3 separate regions of the Homo sapiens genome follow, and regions 1 and 2 are each linked to region 3. Evidence: promoter capture Hi-C in 16 types of primary human blood cells and fetal thymus (Javierre and others, 2016). All regions are on one chromosome and are shown on one strand. The core of a region is centred on a gene start or on the middle of the fragment in contact, and the rest is flanking DNA. Distances in the headings are between cores, read along the strand shown. Region 1 overlaps PRKAA1 (protein kinase AMP-activated catalytic subunit alpha 1). Region 2 overlaps CARD6 (caspase recruitment domain family member 6). Region 3 holds the start of RICTOR (RPTOR independent companion of MTOR complex 2).

Region 1 (2,853 bases), core at 260-2,759, 1.7 Mb before region 3:
CCAGGCCAGTTTTGAACTCCTAACCTCAAGTGCTCTGCCTGCCTCGGCCTCCCAAGGTGCTGGGATTACAGGCGTGAGCCACCATGCCTGACCACTGTTTTTCATTCTTTATCCTTTTTTCTTCTTCAGATTGTATGATTTCCAGTGGCCTGTCTTCTAATTACTAATCTTTTCTTCTGCTTGATGTAGCCTGTGGTTGAACCCCTTTATTGAATTTTTCAGTTCAGTTATACTATTCCTCAGCTCTATGATTACTGTTTGGTACTTCTTTAGAAAATCCACTTTTCAACTGATAAACTAACTATATCCATTTCTAGGGCTGCCGTAACAATGCCACAGACTCAATGACTTACAGCAACAGAAAATTATTCTTTGCCAGTACTGGAGGTGAGAAATTTGAAATCAAAGGGCCATCAGGGCCATGTTTCTTCTGAAGGCTCTAGTGGAGAATCTGTTCCTTGCCTCTTCCAGCTGCTGCTGCTTTTTTTTTTTTTTTTGAGACGGAGTCTCACTCTGTCACCCAGAATAGAGTGCAGTGGCATGATCTCAGCTCACTGCAACCTCCGCCTCCTGGGTTCAAGTGATTCTCCTGCCTCAGTCTCTCAAGTAGCTGGGACTATAGGTGTGTTCCACCACTCCTGGCTAATTTTTCTATTTTTAGTAGAGATGGAGTTTCGCCATGTTGGCCAGGCTGGTCTCGAACTCCTGACCTCAGGTGATCTCCCCGCCTCGGCCTCCCAAAGTGCTGGGATTACAGGCGTGAGCCACCGTGCCCAGCCCTCTTTCACCTTCTTGTGGCTCCTGATGTTCCTTGGTTTGTGATAGCATAACTCCAGTCTCTGCCTCTGTCTTCAAATGGCTGCGCTCGCTTGCTCTCTCTCTCTCTCTCTCTCTCTCTCTCTCTCTCTCTCTGTGTGTGTGTGTGTGTGCTCTCCTCTTCTTGTAAGGATACCAGGCATTAGATATAGGGCTCACCCTAAATCCAGTAAGATTTCATCTTCAAATCCTTCACTAGTCACGTCTGAAAAGATCCTATTTCCAAATAAGATAACAATCAGAGATTCTGGGTTGACATAGATTTTGTGGGGACGTTATTCACTTCACTACACTTGTTTTTATATTTTGTATACTTTTAGTTTTATGCTTTCTTTCTTAGTTTTTGAGTAACTTTTAAATTGGTTTGATAGAATGTATTAGTAAAATGTCTGTGGGCTGGGCGTGGTTGGTTAATGCCTGTAATCCCAGCACTTTGGGAGGCCGAGGGGGGGCGGATCACCTGCGGTCAGGAGTTCAAGACCAGCCTGACCAACATGGTGAAACCCCATCTCTACTAAACATACAAAAATTAGCCGGGCGAGGTGGTAGGTGCCTGTAATCCCAGCTACTTGGGAGGCTGAGGTAGGAGAATCGCTTGAACCCAGGAGGCGGAGGTTGCAGTGAGCTGAGATCATGCCATTGCACTCCAGCCTGGGCAACAAGAGCAAAACTCCGTCTCAAAAATAAAAAATAAATAAAATAAAATAAAATGTCTGTGGAATCCTAAGACATTGAAATTGATATGAGGCAGGTTTTCAGTACACTGGATTCATGTTCTGATACAGGAAGGAGGTCATAGTAGCAGTGCCTGGCACATAGTAGGTGCTGGTACTCAAATATTTCTTGAATGAATGAATTTGTATGATTGAATGCATTTCTGGATAATTCTTATTACTACAAGGAATTCAGTCTATTCTTTTCAAAACTGTATATACATTAAGAATTTCTCTGATATGTTTAACTTCCATTTATGTTTTATTAAAAGGATGTGTATTTTTACATGTCTTCTGAGGATTATCTTTTTAAAAAAATCAAATTTCACTTAACCATGTTCGGAAAAAGCATAACTTTAAGAGTCTGACCTGGGTTGAAGTTTTGGCTTTTCCACTCATTAGCTGTGTAACTTTGGGCAAGTTATTTCATCTTTCTGTGCCTCAGTTTCCTGTAAAATGTTGCTAATAATGCCAAGTCTTCCAGGTTGGTGAGAGTGTGTCAGTATGTTTGGGTACAAAGTGAGTATGCTGCAAATATTAACTAGTAAGTTGTATACTTTAATTATGTATTGTAAAGGAACTAGATTTATGTTGTAAAAAATTGTTTTTGTTAAAAAAAGAGCCCTTGTTTATTAAAACTCACATCAAATTAAGCTGCTTTTTTCCTCTGTGTTCTTCTGTGACCAAACAAGTGTTCCTGTAGTAGGTGAAATCACTGTCAAGGATTGGTGTTATGTGTATATATGTCTGATAGTAATCTGTTGAACATTAACCAAAGTCAGGAAATGAGTTGAACTTTGGAAGGTAGAAATCTGAGGATTGGTGGTAGTGGTGGTGGGGTAGGAGTGGTGGAGCGGGTTGGAGGGATTGAAGTATATGGGAATGGGAGCTAGATACATTAAAATGACAGCTATTATTTATTTAGCACTTATGTACCTGGATAAAGGAATGCTATTGCATCTACATGGATAGGTATCACCAATCAGAGCTGAGATAAAACTGGCTATTCAGAGATTAAAACAAATAATTCAGGGCTGATTAGATACAGATGGGGGAACAGGTCTGGGAGCAGTGGAAAATAAATAACCCTAAATAATAAAGGCTACCATTTATTTATCAATCACTTGCTATATGCCAGGCATTGTGGAAAGTGCTTTACAAACACTATTCCATGTATCTGTTATAGTCACCCTTATGGAGTATGTGGTATTCTTATTTTAAAGATGAGTAAATAGAAGGTTGTAGTTTCTTTAACTTGCCCAAGTCAAACATCTAGTAAGTACCTTCAAACAGGAATAAAACCGAGGTCTGTGCGACTATAAAA
Region 2 (3,214 bases), core at 264-2,763, 1.8 Mb before region 3:
GGGACCACAAGTGCACACCATCAACCCCACCTAACTTTTCATTTCTTCATTTTGTAGAGACAGGGTCTCACCATTTTGCCCAGGCTGGTCTCAACTCCTGGGCTCAATTAATCTGCCTGCCTCAGCCTCCCAAAGTGTTGGGATTGTAGGCATGAGCCACCCTGGCTGGCCTACCTACATCTTATAAATACAGAGATAGTACATAACAGAGAGAGAAGATCAGCCTAGATTTTCTACTCCTGACAGACGGCCAGCTAGTGTAAAAATGTAAAATTACCCTTAAAAATAGCTTTGAAGAAACAACAGAAATAAGAGAAAAGCATAGATTTTAGGAATTAATAAAAGTAACTATAAGAAGCCCTTGAGTAGTCTCAAAGTTGCTTGAACTGATATATGTGTTGGGGCAAAAAGGTGAGGGGGAAGTTGAATCTAGCATGAAGAAAGAGTTCACAGAGGAAGCAGTGAGAGAATAGGTTGCAGGACAGCTTTTAAGTTCTGCTTTTTCCTGTCTCATACTTTGCCTTAGGAAAGCAATTCTCTACTTCTTCAGCCAGAAATTCGTACCCATGGCTGGGTGCAGTGGCTCGCACCTATAATCCCAGCACTTTGGGAGGATGAGGTCGGCAGATCACCTGAGGTCAGGAGTTCGAGACCAGCCTGGCCAACATAATGACACCCCGTCTCTACTAAAAATACAAAAATTAGCCAGGTGTGGTGGCAGGTGCCTGTAGTCCCAGCTACTCAGGAGGCTGAGGCAGGAGAATCACTTGAACCCAGGAGGTGGAGGTTGCAGGGTTGCAGTGAGCCAAGATTGTGGCCCTGCACTCCAGCCTGTCATCTCAAAAAAAAAGAAAGACATCAATACCCACAGGATCCAAGCCAGGTGTGTCGACAAGGTAATAACAGTGTCACTATGGAGCAGATCAAAGCAACAGAGTAGATGTACACACAAAACAGAGATGTATCTAATTAAGCACAGAGCTAGGTGAAAAAAGTAAGCAATAATATCAGGAAACTAATCTCAATTTTATAAATTAAAAATTCATAAAAATAACTCAGCTAAGGCAAAAAGAAATAAACAGAGATTTCAGCTGCCACCCATGGAAAAGGAGTCTAAATTTTGAATTTAAATACAGTTAGGTTAACTGGAGACAAAAACAGACTAAAATAATATTCAGACTCTTGGGAGAAATATAACAATCTAGAGTCTCTATGACCTATTATATACAATGGATAGAACACAATCCAAAGCTAATAGACATAGGAAGAAACAAGAAATGTAACTCATACTCAATGGACACTGAATCCAAAATGACCTAGATGTTAGATTTAGCATATAAGAATTTTACAGTCAGGCATGGTGGCTCATGCCTGTAATTCCAAAACAGTGGGAGGCTGAGGCAGGAGGATCACTTGAGCCCAGGAGTTCAAAACCAGCCTGGGCAACATCGTGAAAACCCTGTCTCTACAAAAAATACAAAATTAACCAGGCCTGGCGGTCTGTGCCTGTAGCCCTAGCTACTTGAGAGGCCGAGGTGGGAGGATGGCTTGAGCCTCAGCCTAGGAGACTGAGGCTGCAGTGAGCCAAGATTGTGCCACTGCACTCTAGCCTGAGCAACAGAGTAAGACTCTGTCTCAAAAAAAAAAAAAAAAACAATTAAAATTAAGTAAGTCCACAATGAATGATTAAATAGGAATTCTCAGAAAAAAATATAAAGTATTTTTAAACAGGAAATTCTGGAATTAAAAATCACAATATATGAATTTGTTTAAAATCACTAGATGGGCTAACAACAAATTGGAGATGACAGAAGAAAGTAAATATCTAACCTGAAGAACAGAGAGAAAAAATATTAAAGAAAACTGAGCAAAGTCTCTGGAACCTGTAGAACAATATTTTTAAAACTCTAAAATTCATGTACTCGAAGTCTCAGAAAGAGAGAAGAGAAGAAGTGAGAAAGAAAAAAATCTCGGTAAATAACAGCTGAAAAGTTTCCAAATTTGATTAAAAGTTTTTGTATAGATTCAGGAAACTCTGCAAACACTAAGAGAAAAAAAAAATCACCCCAGACACATCAGAGTCAACTGCTCAAAAAAAATTAAGAAAAAATCTTGAAAACAACCAGAGATAAATGACACAGCACTTACAGAGGATCAATGATAAAATGACTGAAGATTTAGCATCAGAAACAATGGAAGCTAAAAGACAGAGGAATGGCATCCATAACATGTTAAAGGCAAAAGTTGTAGAATCCTATATCCAGCAAAAGCAACCTTCTGGAATGAAGGCAAAATAAAAATATCTTTCAATAAACAAAAACTAAGAGAATTTACCACCAGCAGACTTGTACTAAGAGAAAAAATAAATAAATTTTTCAGGCTAAAGGAAAATAATATAAAATGAAAACCTGGATCTTCAGGAAAAAAGAAAGGCCACAGGGAAAGGTAAACATATTGGTTCCACCCAATGGTTGAACCCAACAACAAGCTGGAGGGGGAAGAGAGTCAATTGATACTGTCTATACAAGTTGAACTTCTATAGTGCAGAGCACACAAGGCAATAGTTTAAGCCTTTCTGAGACTGTGACACTGTGATATTTTTTACATAAAATTTCACATGACAAAGAGCATGAAGACCTTCCTTTGATTTAGAACTATTTTTTTCATTTCTCAGCTGCACAGACAAATATTACTTGGGAAAGAAACAAAGAATAGCCACGTGCCTCCAGTCAACTAGAGTGGATGGGCAGCCATTAGAATTACATTGCAGATCATAACTACATTATTATTAAGACTTCTCTTGATCTGTTTTACTAAAGATGTTAGACTGATTGTAATAATGTCCCCAGTTAATGGCTTTCTGGTATCCATAGTCTTTGCTATCTTATTTTGCAAGAAGTAGAACTTGTTTTCCCCCAACCCTAAACCTGGCTTTGAGACTTGCTTTGGTCAACAGAATGTGGCAGAAGTAATGGTGTTATGGGTTGAATTTTGTCCCCCTCAAAAAGATATGAAGTCCCCCAGTAATGCAGAATGTGGCTTTATTTTGTAAATAGCATCTTTATCTTTACAGAGGTAATTAAGTTAAAATAAGGTCATGGAGGGGGGCCTAAATCAGTATAATTGGTGTCTTAATAAAAAAGAAAAATTTAGACACAGAGACATGCACAGAGGATAGATGATGTGAAGAGACACAGGGAGAAAATGGCCATCT
Region 3 (3,236 bases), core at 435-2,934:
GTTCCTATTTTATTTTCCAGATGATGCTACTTTATGTTCCTTTTATTTTTCTTCTTACCACTTATTTTACAAATGACATATATTAACTATAGGATATTTAAAAAGTAGAGACAAGCAAACAAGAACAAAAAAGTGCACGTGTAATTCCACAAATGAGGGGAGAAAATCAGCTAACATTTTCATGTATATTTTCAGACTTTTTTCAACATACATGTACATATAAAATATTTTATAATGTATATTTTTAATTTCGTACATATTTAAACTTTTATTATAAAACAGGAAATTTGTAATATTTTGCTTGATTTAATATCATGAACATTATTTCCTATTACTAAGTCTACCTCTTCACTTTTAATCGTTGACATAATTTACATAATCCCTACCTTTGGTCATTTAAGTGTTTCCAAATGTTCACTCTTATTAACAACTTCAACAAATATCCCCAATATTGCTTTTTTTTTCTTTTTTAAAGTAAGCAGAGAATTGGAATAAATTAGAAATCCAGGGCACTTACTCATCCAACAGATATTTATTGAATACTTATTTGTGCCAGATATTGCATTAACTGGGAGCTGGGAAAACAGAACTGGTTAAGGCTAGATCTCCACTTTTAATTAACTTTCAGTCTCATGGAATAGAAAGATGAGCTGAGGAACTGGAGAGGACAAATCGCTCCTCTCTTTAAAGTAAATGTAGTTCAAGAGAAAGCTGCTGGGTCAGTGGCCAGGTGTGTGTGTGTGTGTGTGTGTGTGTGTGTGTGTGTGTGTGTGTGTGTGTGTGTGTGTGTGTGTGTGTACACATACGTATTAACTAAGCAGTTTCTAGAATTAAAATCCCTAATGTTAATAGGCTTATGCATAAAATAGATTAATCCACAACACCTGCATGAGCCACGATCCTAGGAGCTGCAGAGCCATAAAAGCCGGACACAGTACCCAGCAGCCTCGCCTCGGCTCCCGGCAGAGAACACCCTCTCCCCGGCCTCCCGGCGCTGGCGCGATCCCACCGCGGGGACCGCCGCCCTGGTCCCCGGCCGCTGCACCCCCTTCTCGCGTCCTACGCCTGGCGGCCAAAAACAAAACTGCCTAACCACTTCCACTTGGAGAAGCCCTCCTAGCCGAGAGGGGCATTCTGAAGATCAAGGGCGAGGCTGGAAAACAAACTTTGTTACGTGTTAACTTAGTTGGAGCAAAGCGATTCCAGGAAAGGAGTCTAAAACTGTGCGCAGCGTTTTTATAAAAAAATGTTTCAGTGGATACACGGGGGAGCGGGGCCGTCTATGGCAGGGCTTCAGAGCAAGCAGGAGACTGGCAGGCCGGCGAGAGCAGGTGGCCCGCCGGCCGCATCCCGGCCTCCTCCTCCCCGCTCGCCTGCATTTGGACGACGGCTTCCGCGGCGGCCGGAGGGGAGCATCCTCTACACTGCCAACTCGCATCAATGGGACTTTCCTCGTGGGAACTGCCCCTCCCGGCGGACGTGCCCTCCGGGTCCGGCGTGGGCGGGCGGGTGCCGCGAACTCCTTGCAGACCTTGGGTCGGCTCAGTGCTCCCTCAGCGCTGGGGCCGAGCCTGCACCACCCGCCGCCGTCGCCGCCGAGGGGGCGGGGGAGGTGCCGCGGGGGGCGGGCGCGGCGCGCGGGGAGGGGAAGGGGTTCTCGCGCGATTGGGCGAGGTTTCCGGTGTTGTGACTGAAACCCGTCAATATGGCGGCGATCGGCCGCGGCCGCTCTCTGAAGAACCTCCGAGTACGAGGTAAGCCCGCTGCAACCCTCACTCCCCACCGCCCGGCGCCCGCCACCCCTGGCACTTGCCTTCCCCTGGCCCTGGGTTGGGGAGCGAGCCGGGGCGCTGGCCGGAGCCAGGGCAGCCGCAGCTGGCCTGCGAGCCAATCCTAATTGGGGCTGTGTGTCTGTTTCGCGCAGGGCGGAATGACAGCGGCGAGGAGAACGTCCCGCTGGATCTGACCCGAGGTAACGCGGGGCGCCGCGGGCGCCGCGAGGGCGCGCTGCTGGGGAGGAGCCGGGTCCGGGGCTGGGGGCCAGAGGCAGGGGCGGGCCCCGCACGGGACCGGCGGGGTGCGGGGGCCAGAGCCGGAGCCCCGCCTGCCGGCCCGCGGGAACCGAGCCCGGGGCCGCCTCGCCGGACCCATCCCCCTACCCAGCGCCCGCTTCCCTCGCCCGAGCCCTTCTCCGGGCCTCGGGCTGCTGCGGGTGCGGGGGAGCCCCGAGTGGAACTCGGCAGACCCGGCGACCCTCTGGGCTCGAGCTCCGGCAGAGTGGTTTGCACCTATCCCGGAGTCCGGCAGCCCAAGCTAGGGGCAGCTGGAGGGAGGTAGAGGCTGTTATTTAGGTTGCAGGAGGATGTTTGAGGGAAGAGCGACCACATCCTGCCCTCCCCGTCCCCGGAGCAGAAGCCGGACCTGCTCGGTGCTTGCCGACTGCGTGACTGCTTTCCCCTTTGCCCACCGTCCTGTGGGGACCCGCAGCATTGATAACTTGGTAGTGAAACCTAGAACTGGTCATTACTGCTAAATGTCTGGTTTATGCTGTTTCCCTTCTGCTTCCCTTTCCCGGGCCGCTGGGACTGTAGTTGGCTAAAGACCGCCCCCTCACCCTGCTGCAGGTTCATTGTTTACCTTCTGCAGTGGAGATGGGTTTGTTTACACCTTCCGAACTGGGGAAACTCGGGTGATATTTTTAATGACCTAATCCCGTTACTAGCCAGTGTTTCCTCTATCACTTACAGTACTAGAGTTTATTCGACATTATCTCGTTGAAGATTTAGTAGTTACGTACAAGATTCTTTTCTCTTCCACGGTAAACAGGATTGAGCCTACTGATTCCGACGAAGTCATATTTCACACGGGCTGTAGCTTGGAGTGTAACCCGGTTCAGCTGTACAGAATCAGTTTCTGAGGTCTATAAAACACCTTAGGAAGTAAACAAAAAAACTTGTTGTAGACATTCTGTATGAGATCAGTTTTTTACCCTATGTCGTACCTGACGTAATGACTGTTATCTACAGTAATTTGTTAAAGCTGGGCTCCTTGTTGACAACGGCTAGAGTGAAAGCATAGTGCATTTTCTAATTTGTTTTATTTTGCTTATCACGATGTAAGATTACTGTTTTATAAACTGAATGGTCAGCTTTCACTTAGCTACAAGAGTACATTTTTATAACTTAATATTTTATTCTGAAAGTTCAGGGACTTAGTTTTGGGTGAACTAGGTCCTT

The links. The method cuts DNA at HindIII sites, captures the fragments that hold promoters and counts their contacts. A CHiCAGO score of 5 or more calls a contact.
Region 1: a fragment that was not itself captured here is called in contact with the fragment with the promoter of RICTOR in region 3 in 1 of 17 cell types (neutrophils); the score reaches 6.0 in neutrophils.
Region 2: a contact is called between a fragment that was not itself captured here and the fragment with the promoter of RICTOR in region 3, in 1 of 17 cell types (neutrophils). The highest score is 5.6, in neutrophils.

What each region holds. Positions count from the first base shown.
Region 1 is chr5:40,783,899-40,786,751 of GRCh38, reverse strand. The region is part of intron 1 of PRKAA1 (protein kinase AMP-activated catalytic subunit alpha 1); the gene reads left to right. All of the region lies in intron 2 of LOC124900968 (a long non-coding RNA gene), which reads right to left. Among named protein-coding and RNA genes, the nearest start is that of PRKAA1, 13 kb to the left of the region's middle. RefSeq lists a cis regulatory region at 2,290-2,303 and an enhancer at 2,224-2,368. The HindIII fragment of the contact is 6,578 bases long and covers 1-2,853 here.
Region 2 is chr5:40,846,651-40,849,864 of GRCh38, reverse strand. All of the region lies in intron 2 of CARD6 (caspase recruitment domain family member 6), which reads right to left. Among named protein-coding and RNA genes, the nearest start is that of CARD6, 6.9 kb to the right of the region's middle. The HindIII fragment of the contact is 9,183 bases long and covers 1-3,214 here.
Region 3 is chr5:39,072,847-39,076,082 of GRCh38, reverse strand. RICTOR (RPTOR independent companion of MTOR complex 2) reads left to right here and starts at 1,684. Exons shown (of 38, transcript NM_152756.5): 1 at 1,684-1,754; 2 at 1,925-1,972. The coding sequence starts at 1,706. RefSeq lists enhancers at 1,272-1,798, 2,325-2,851 and a silencer at 1,487-2,386. The HindIII fragment of the contact is 5,742 bases long and covers 1-3,236 here.